Linked DNA regions of Homo sapiens: region 1 is linked to region 2. The links are contacts of gene promoters, found by promoter capture Hi-C in blood cells and fetal thymus (Javierre and others, 2016). All regions are on one chromosome and are shown on one strand. Each heading gives the region's core, a stretch centred on a gene start or on the middle of the fragment in contact. The rest is flanking DNA. Distances are from core to core; before and after follow the strand shown. Region 1 overlaps APOBEC2 (apolipoprotein B mRNA editing enzyme catalytic subunit 2). Region 2 holds the start of TREML2 (triggering receptor expressed on myeloid cells like 2).

Region 1 (4,901 bases), core at 345-2,844, 140 kb after region 2:
CTAAATATAGGATTAAATACTATTTTGTCATTAAAAAAAAAAAAAAGAAAGATGAAATAAGTATGTAAAATAAGACACTTTATTTAACAAATGCTCATTTCTCAAGATTATTTTAATTAAGCAGGGTTGTTCTTTTGGGCTTTTAGATTACACTCTTATCTCATGCCAGTTTTTTTTTTTTTAACTTGATATATCTTAACCTTTCCCTTCACAAACATGAGCAATTCAAATAGAAGACAGGGAAGCATGTTAATGGGTCCAGATAATACAGTTATATTTGAAATCACTGAAAAAAAAAAAAAAAAAAAAAAGCTCTAAGGACTTGCTAGTTAGGCACCTGGGCCCTTGACTCTGAAAGATGTCTGAAAGGAAAATATACTGGGGTTAAATTTTAAGCTGCCGGTTAGTCTGTAGAATCTATGTTGGGTTTATAATTACAGTGATAGTACATACACTAACAAAATCTTCAAGGAATTCTAAAAGTTAAATTTTATATTCTCAGAGGGCACCCTCAGAAATCTGTTTTGACTACTGTTCACCACTATAAAGTGTCTTATTTTATGTGAGCAGAGTACCACACAGTATACCCTATCATAGGCTCACTGACTTCAGTGACTGGGTCCTGCTTTTTAAAAGAAATGGCTGAAAGTTGTATCTTCATGGGTTGGCAAATGCTCAGCTTGAGAATGATCAGGTGCCCATGTGCATGTCTAATAGAAAACACCTGCCAACATCAAGCTCTGGAACATTGATATTTCCTAAACGTGTCTATGAAGCGACATCTTCTCTTAAGGGTGTTAGGAGTGAGAGAGACCAAAAGTAAATTATCTTCATGGAAGCTTGTTGTTTTCATGTTTTAGTAATATGTGAGTTGTTGCAGGATTAAAGTTGGGTAAGAGTGTCGTGAGTACCCCTCCTCTATTACTGGAAGATTTTGATCAGTAACTGGGGCCTTGCAAAGGGGGCTTCGTCATAGCATTTCTGTAGGCGCAAACTCAATCAGACTAAATGTAAAAAAGATAGTAAAGGATCCTTTAGCCCTCTTTCCTGAGGGTAATTAGCCTGTTTCTGTTAGAGTTTAATTTACCCTCAGCAAGAGGCCAAATTGGCCTTAATTGTGTCCTAATTATTTGCTTAAATAGCTAATCTTTCTCCTATCACCTCTTGATATCTGTAAGAGGTTACTTCTGAGCTGCTGCCTACTTTACAAATGTCTTTTTAACTCTTTAAATGTTCCTGCATGGACTAGCTTGTTGCTATATTATCCCCATTCCTGCATTCGACATCCTCCATGAATTCTACTGAGGTCTTCTCAACATAAGGAAAATGTTCCCGTATTGTATTTTCACACAGCAATTGTTGGTCTCCTTCAAAGTGTAGCCATTTGTTTGAAAACATGAAAGCAGGTCTGGCTTAAAACAAGTTAAATACCAGTCCATTTGGGGAATTTCAAAATTACCATAAGTGAAAAAATTGTCCCTGAAGGACTAAAAAACATTCATTAGAGAAAAATGGAATGGTAAGATTGCCAGTGGATATGGGAGTGAGGCATCTAGAAGATGTCTGGAATTAGTAATCCCTGACATGTACACAGGGGCATACTCAGAGGATTTCAGTATCTTCTCTGCTGTGGTTCAGTAGCAGGTGCTTGCACCATCTAAATCTTACCAAAGAACGTCATCTTGCCTCATGAAAGTTTTAGGATTCCTGTCAACCTTGAGTATTCTAAGTTAGGGGAAAGTTACTTTGATACAAAAGTGTGGGAGGGAAAAGTTTAGAGAGGGATTCAGAGGAAAGAGACATGTTCTAAACTATTTTTGCAACCAGTCAAAAGCAGAGAAATGAAACCCTTCCAAAGGAAAATCAGACATATCACAGATTCTACCTGACCTCACACCTTCTACTGGAGTTAACATAATAAAGTGTTGGTGCCATGGCACCAGGAAAACTCACGTGAGGCAAAGCCCAGTTGCCCTACTTCAGGATGTCTGCCAACTTCTCCTCGTAGTATAGGAAGTTCTCCTGAATGTCCTCCCAGGGCTGAAAGGCCTTGGATTCACCCTCTTCTTGCTCCACAAAATTCTGCCAGACATATTCGAAGTCCTGGGGCTTCATGATGCGCAGTTTACAGCCAGCCTCCTTCAGCTTCTTCAGAGCAGCCTGGATCTCCGGCTCCTCCCACATGAAGAGTCGACCCACCAGAATGAGCAGACGCAGGTTCTTGGTCTTGCTAAGGGTTTTGATAATGCGGTCAGCACACGCTGCACAGGGGCTGGAGGACACATACCAGGTGACATTGTACCGCAGGGCTGGGTCGAAGGCTGGCAGGATGGTGTTGAAGAAAGCTTCCTCTGCATGGGCAGCCGCATGCTCATCCTCTAGGTATCCCCGAGATGCCTGCACTTGGCCCCCCTTGCCCTGTGCTTCAACCACATAGCAGAGGAAGGTCTTGTTCCTCCCGGAACTGTACTCCACATTCCGGAACTGGAATTTAAAGAAGTTGGCAGGCAGCCGTTCTCTGTAGGTCAAGGAGACAAAAGGACAGGAAAGAATGATAAGTTCTTGTTTCTAGAACCAGCCTAGAGTAGGTAGCTCTTCCAGGTCAGTACTTCAGAAATGCATTCACTCTTACTATAAATAGGTCTTGTCTGTGGTAACATCAGTGACAAAAAAAAAAAAAAAAAAAAAAGCATTAAAAAATCCAGAAGGGTTTATCTGAAGGAGAGGAGAATTTGGACTGAGGTGTGCATTTTGGTCACCCTACTAGGACATTGTCTCCACCATCACTCTTCCAGCACAACATACCCCTACATTTCTAAATCACTGAATCTTTAACCTGCCTATACCTTAGAATCACCTAGAAGACTGAGAATGTCAGTGCCTGGGCCTCATGCCAAACCAATTAAATCAGAACATGTGGAGAGGTGGTCCAAGCATCAGTATTTTTAAAAAGCTCTCTGGATGATTCCAATAAGTGGCCAGGTAAGTAGCAAGCATATAAAATTTCTCATGACAGAGCAAAACAAAGATTTTGCAGAGCATTTTATGCTTTTTTCTCTTCCTTGTAACTCATGTAAATTGCATCTTGGCATGAAATGGCCTAAAACTTGCAATAACATGCTCTCCTTCTCAAGTGACTACTTCTCAAGTCTGTTTACTTTCAGGTAAAGGGATTGTCACATGCTAAGTGTCCAAGAATTTTTATCTGTGAGGACAGACTACTCAAGGGTATCTTGGGATAGTTAAGCCTGTATTTAGTATTGAGTCACCTCCAAATCTTAAAGGACTTGGTCTCTGCCCTCCAGATGCTTATAATTTAGCAGCTAGATTGCAGCTGGACAGAGAAGATGTAAATAAAACAGCTGAGAACATTATAAGACTGCTAAAATTGGATAGGTACAGTAAAGGAAGTATTATGAAGGTTCTCGAAAGTTTGGCCTTGATTCGGGAGGCAGTAGAGAATTGTTACAGGTTCTTGAGAAGGAAAACAATAAAAATGATGTCCATGCAAGATTACAGTCTTGGCAATAGGCAGATAGTGTGAAGCTGAGGAAAAGCCTCAAATTGAACAAGTCCAGTAGGTATCTTAGGACACTAAACTTGGTGATGAATTGTGTGGGTGCCTTTGAGGAGGAGATGGATGGTTAGGAAATGAAAACAGCAGGAAAAGTCCAGGAATTTTGAAAATTTTGGTAATAACAAGGAGAAGAAAAAAGAGAAGGGCCAGAGAAGACATCAGAGTTGAAGATTGTTTTTACTTTTATGTGTATGTGTGTGTTTTTCTAAAATAGGCAAGATTTGTTCAAGTTTGAAGTCCAAAGAAAATGAATTTTTAATAGGAGAGATGAAAAATGTCAAGAGAGGAGGAGATGAGTACCAGCTAGAAAGATTCAATGTTTTCCTTTTTAAAAATGTAATCTCTCTGCCTGCCCCAAGAGATACCTATGGCACCATTAATTCTACTATTGCCTGTCTCCACCTCTTCTCTTTCCCCAAAGAAGTCAACAGACTCCCTGGGCTGCAGGGGAATCCCTGGTATCCCAGGGCCTTGGCTGCCTAGGGATGAGCAGCAGATGCCAAAGATATGAGTAAACTTGACTTATTTCCCTGCAGGATTCCCTCACCCCCACCCATCACCAAAATGTATCCACCCAAGTTTCCATGTCCCGTGCTGTCAGGTTCATTTTCCACTGTGGAGATGGATGTGTTTGAGGACCCAGCCCCAGGATTCCATCAGGTACTATACTTAGCTCTCTAAGCCCCTGTGTCCCTAGTTGGAGGTGTTTATTGTTTACTTAACATTTTAGGAGAATGGATCGCCTGATGTTTCCCTGCTCCTCTTCTCAATCCCTGTCAGGCGTTCACTTATAGTGAGTGCTCCCCAAAGGTACTCACCCCACCAGACCACTCCTCAACTTTACCAGTTGCCAAATGGTCCCTTCACTTCCTGGAGTGGCTTTTTGCTTTTGAGAAGCTCAGAGCTTACCGTTCCTGCCCAAACTTGCTCTTCAAGACCTTTTGCCCCACTCCCCAAGTCTAATCCAGGGCCACCTATATGATGGATTATCAGGTGGAACCCTGGCAAGTATTCATGGCTACTCAAATAGCTTGGAAGCTTAAACAGTAGCTGCTGTGTGGTCCCTCTTTTCCTTCTGGAGCTCCCTATAGCTCAGCTGAAAGTATGAATTTAGGCCAGTGTGAATTTGGCCCAGCATGCAATTGCAAATTGGCTTTGATGGTTGTGAGGTGACTGTTTCTTTCTGCCCTTCTTAAGCTCTGACATTTTCCCCTCCTCCTCTTCCCTAGGCAAGAGGAGAAGACCCAAAGAAACCTGAAACCCAAGGGAGAGGAAGAAAGGTCATCTCTCTATAAATACGGGTTTCCAACCCCTCTGGCCAGCA
Region 2 (5,102 bases), core at 2,603-5,102:
CATTCACTGGATGGCTGTAAACAGAAAGCCAATACAAGTATTGGAGAGATTGTAGAGAAATGAGAACTCATACATTGCTGGAGAGGGTGTAAAATTTGCAGCCACTTTGGAAAACTATTGGTAGTTCCTGAAAATGTTAAACATAGAGTTGCCATATGACCCAGTAGTTCTACTATTGGTTATGTACTCAAGAGAAATGAAAACGTATGTCCACACAAAAACTTGTACATGAATAGTCATAGTAACACTGCTTATAATAGTTGAACAGTGGAAACAAATAAAATATTTGTCAACTGATAAATGGTAAACATATATATCCATTCAGTGGAATATTATTCAGCCTTTAAAAGGAATGATGTATTAATACAACGTATAGCACAAGTACAGCTACAACATGGACAAACCTGGAAAACATGCCAAATGAAAGAATCCAGTCACAAGGAACACATATTGTTCAATTATGTTTTTATGACATATCCAGAATTGATAAAGGCATTTTTGATTGAAGATATTTTTGTCTAGAAAGACAAAAATATTAGTGGTTGCCTGGGACTGTAGGAATGGGGACTGTGGTAAGCTGATAAATGGTCTCTTAAAAGATATCTGTGTCCTAATCCCTGGAACCTGTGATTGTTACCCTTATATGGCAAAAAACAAAAAAAAAATGATCTTTGCTGATATGAGTGAGTTAAACATCTTGAGATGGTGAGATTATCCTGGATTACGTAGATGGGAACTAAATGCAATCACATGTATCCTTATGTAAGAGAGTCAGAGTGGGATTTGAACACAAAGAGGAGAAAGTGATGGGAAGATGGAGCAGAGGGAGACTGAAGATGCTGGCCTTGAAGATTGGAGTAAAACAGCCCCAAACCAAAGAATGCTGGCAGCTACCTGAAGCTGGAAAGGCAAGGAACAAATTTTTCCCTAGTGTCTCTGGAGAGACTGCAGCCCTGTCGACATCTTCATCTCAATACAGTGTGAACTGACTTCAGACTTCTGCCTTCAGAATGGCGAGACAATAACTTAATACTGTTTTAAGCCACCAAGTCTGCAGTAAACGGATCCAGGGAGTGCCTGCTAACGGGCATGGGGTTTCTTTGGGTGGGGAAATCCTGCAAAATTGGTGTTAGTTGTACAACTCAGTGAATATATTGAAAACCACTGAATTGTATGCTTTAGATGGGTCAGTTTTATATTATGTGAATTATAGCTCACAGAATTGTTGAAAAAAGTCATTGTGACCTTGGGTTAAGCAAAGATTTATTAGATATGACATAAAAATTGATTCATAAAAATTATATATTGGACTTCACCAGAATAAATCAACATAAAGTGCTTCACTTTTCCATTCTGGAAAGAGAGAAATGACAGGAAAAAACCCCACCAGATCAGTGTTTGTCTGGGACTGAAGGGATGACTAACAAGGAGCAGAGGAAAGCTTTTCGGGATGATGGCACTCTTCTCTGTCTCCATTACGGCATTGGATACAAGTCTCTAGAACTCCCAGAACTCGTCACTGAAAAGGGTGAATAGTACTGTATGTAAATTAGGCCTTAATTTTTAAATGGGAAAAATAAATATAAAGACAAAATACACTGCTGTATTAAATCAAATGATAGATGTAAAAGTCTAATGTATACGTATTTTTAATGATTTTGACCAATGCTTCCAAATTTCTCTTAAGAAAGATTGAATCCAGTGCATACTTCCTCGATCAGCGAATGAATGTTTGATTCTTTCTACCCTCATCAGCACAGTGATCCCAAGGGTCACACTTTAGACGATGATTGGCTCAGTGCTGGGCGCACTGTATCAGTTTCATAGAATCATGGATTCCAAGCGCATAAAGTCCCCACAAGAGATAAATCCCCCACTCCTGAAGCAACTTACTGTTCTGATGGGGGAAGGGATGGAGGAACTTACTGTGTGTGCTGGGGAGGGGAGATGGCCCCTGAACTCAGGGAGCTCAGGAAGTTCTGAGGACTGGGTGAGAAACATTGAAAAAGGAAGGGTGAATAAGGAAAACAAAACACGTCTGTGAGCTGAGAGGTCTCAAGTGACAATCGTGTCTCATTCCTACGCCCCCAGTGCCTACCTAGCCCCATGCATAGCAATGAGGTTGTGGGAATGAACAAATGAATGAATGAATTAATGAGTGAGTGAATGAGTTGAGAGACTACAAAAGCTTAGGGTCAGCCGAGATAGACTTCTTTGCTTGGAGCTTGGGGCTTCAAGGTCAATTTAAGATTGTGGCCATGCAAGCTTGAGGACTTTTTGCTCTGAGTCCTGTTAAAATTAATGAAAATGGAGACCAGGCCTGAAGAGTCCCTGAGCAAAAATTAAAAAAACAGTTAGGCCTCATAAGTGACCTCAACTTTGCTTGATTTGCAAATATCAGTGAAACTTAACACGAGCTATTTCTTGTAAATGTGTATATTAAGGAAAAATAGAACTTAAGCTCAACCAATCAAAAGAAACTTATATAATTAACTAGGGTCTTTCCAACAGGATAGGCCAAATAAGGGAACTATATAACTATAACTAATTAAATATTTTCTTCAGTTTACTTGTCCTGTAGGAGTCTTCCCCTTGCATTCCCCCAGTGGAGCTCCTCAACCTCTTCTGTTTGGAGCTGCCTGATTCATGAATTGTTGTTTGCTGAAATAATCTGTTTAAAATTTTATTGTGCCTCAGTTTACCTTTTGACAGTCCCATCTAAGGAGTAGAAACATGGCACTAGTGAGTAGGGGGAGCATACATAATCACGGGAGTCCAGCTGGGTCCCCACACACTGAAGGAGCAGATGACACAGGTACCGGACATCAAAAATTGATGCTTCTGATTCTAGGCCTTGGGGTAAGTGAAGGGTGTGGTCTTGGGCCTAGTGCTGGGTCATTTCCACTGGAGCTGGTGGCTGTACAGGCGAGATAGCATTGAGCAGGAGGAAGTGGAGGGCACTTGCCTGCGTGCTGACGTAGGCTGGAGGCAGGGGAGGAAGGGGGTCTTGAGATGAGGTGGGTGAGGGGAAGTACTGCGGAGGCTGTAGGAAGCCTGCACGAGGGACTAGGAGTCTAGAGGGAGCTGATGGTGAGTAGAGTCGACAGGAGGAGAGGCAGGGAGAGGGACAGAGAGAGGAGACGTATGGATAGGGAAAAGGAGAGGCTGCTGGGGTGTGTGTGAGACTGTGTGCATGGGCGTGTGTGTGTGTGTGTGAAAGTGAATAAAAGACAAAGTGAGACTGTGAGTGTGAGTGCATGTGCATGCACACCTGTGTGTGAGAGTACAGGAACCCCTCCCTCAACCCAAAATTTATGCCCTGAGTCTTAACAATTTGCATTTTTCCCGCTTGACAAAAGTAAGATTTCAAGTGAGCCTGTAAGAGGTTATTTGCAACAGTGAACACAAGTGACTGTTCTGAGCAGCCAGGAGCCTGGGAGAGAGAGAGAGGAAGGAACAGAAAGAATCTGCAATGAATGAATGAATGAGAGTTTATAAGAACTTCCCTGTGAATGTATATATGTAAGAAACTAGGGTCTGAGATGCTCCATCTCAGCCTAAGAGCCCGCACCCCTGGGTCTCTGAGCCCAGAAGATTCCAGGAAGGTCTATACCTGACGTTCCAGAAGCCTCACCCCAGCCCCCTTGCTGGATCCTAGGGACCAGTTTCTGGGGGAGGTTGGGGAGGGCGGGGAGCCCTCTGACTGTGAGTCCTCCCGGCTTGGGGCCCCAGACTGGGTGGAGCAGCCACACCTGCCTGAAGTTCCGAGGAAAAGGGCGGAAACAGCTGCCAGCACCGCCCTCATAATAGGCTCAATGAATCCCTGCGGTTGGCTGGGGGCAGTGGGTCCCACACTGCCTCACTTCCCTAAATGGGCAGCTTCACTTTTAGAACCCCGGGTCCTTCCCTGGCAGGCCCAGGTGGCACATCCTGTGTCGGGTGGGCCCTCACCTTGGATCTCCAGGCCTGACACTGCCCAGCTGGATGGAACCATGGCCCCAGCCTTCCTGCTGCTGCTGCTGCTGTGGCCACAGGGTTGCGTCTCAGGTGAGGGGAGAAGGGGCTGACTTGTGGAGGAGGGAGTGGGTACAGAGGCAGGAGCTCAGGGCCTTTTTCTTACCCTCCTTACCAGCAGTTTTCTTGTTTAGTGTTTTGTGGGTTGGGGAAGGAGGAGATTAGGGCTGACTTAGCTCTTTACCCTAATATCAGGCCCCAGGCGAAGCTAACCCAGGCCTCCCAAGCCAAGATAAAGCTCTGGACCCTCTCTGCATTGGCTCCTTTATCTGCTAGGCTTCCTCAGGCTTTAAAGCAGAGCCCTCAATTTCCTCACACAAATAGCTTTCTCTGCTTGGCCTCTGTCAGGAAGCCCTGCTTAGTTATGACAGCAATCATTGCATCATGTGTGTTTTGAACTGAATTTGAACATTTTTCTTGAAATGCTGATGCCACATCCTGTCCCTGCCTCTGTCCTGAAGGGACCAGTGTGTGAATGCCTTTCCCACCTCACAGATACCAATGCTCCTTGAGGAACCTCACCCATTCCTGCCCCTCTCGCTGCCATGGCAACCAAGTTACCACTTCCTGTTCAGTTCTGGGCATGGTGGGGGTTGGCAAAACTCACCACTGCCTGTGAGAGGGGTGGGAGGTGTAGGCACACATGAAGACATTGCCCTGGAGACCCATCCCAAGGTCACCCAACTCTGCACCTCCCAGAGGGTAGAGAAACAGCTTCCCACTGCCAGGGCAGAAAGGGGTCTCTCTTGTGCTAAGAAATCCTGGGCTCATCCACCAAATAATGAAGTTGGATCATTCTGTTTAGTTTGCAAGGGACAGAGGGATGCTTAGAGAGGGTGCTGCTTCACACAGAGCCTCAGCTCTAGTGGCTGCTGGCTGGGACTTGGGACGGATATCCTGGATTCTGGTGGGACAGATGTCCTGGATTCTGGGCCCTTGACTGTCACAGCTCTGGGTTCCATTGGGGGAACTGGGAGGCCCCAGCATGTGGGAAAAGGAAGCATGAGTTGAGCATGCACTGTGTGCAAAGCACTGACCTGGGGCAGAATTCTCACAGCAACCTGTGAGGGGTGTGGTGCTATTCTCAC

The links. Contacts are between HindIII fragments. The CHiCAGO score rates a contact against its expected background, and 5 or more counts as called.
Region 1: a contact is called between a fragment that was not itself captured here and the fragment with the promoter of TREML2 in region 2, in 1 of 17 cell types (neutrophils). The highest score is 5.1, in neutrophils.

Annotation. Positions count from the first base shown.
Region 1 is chr6:41,058,945-41,063,845 of GRCh38, reverse strand. It overlaps APOBEC2 (apolipoprotein B mRNA editing enzyme catalytic subunit 2), which reads right to left. Exons shown (of 3, transcript NM_006789.4): 2 at 1,954-2,518. The coding sequence ends at 1,975. Among named protein-coding and RNA genes, the nearest start is that of APOBEC2, 8.2 kb to the right of the region's middle. The HindIII fragment of the contact is 1,506 bases long and covers 842-2,347 here.
Region 2 is chr6:41,199,899-41,205,000 of GRCh38, reverse strand. It overlaps TREML2 (triggering receptor expressed on myeloid cells like 2), which reads left to right and starts at 3,852. Exons shown (of 5, transcript NM_024807.4): 1 at 3,852-4,047. The coding sequence starts at 3,993. RefSeq lists an enhancer at 3,564-3,633. The HindIII fragment of the contact is 14,567 bases long and covers 2,268-5,102 here.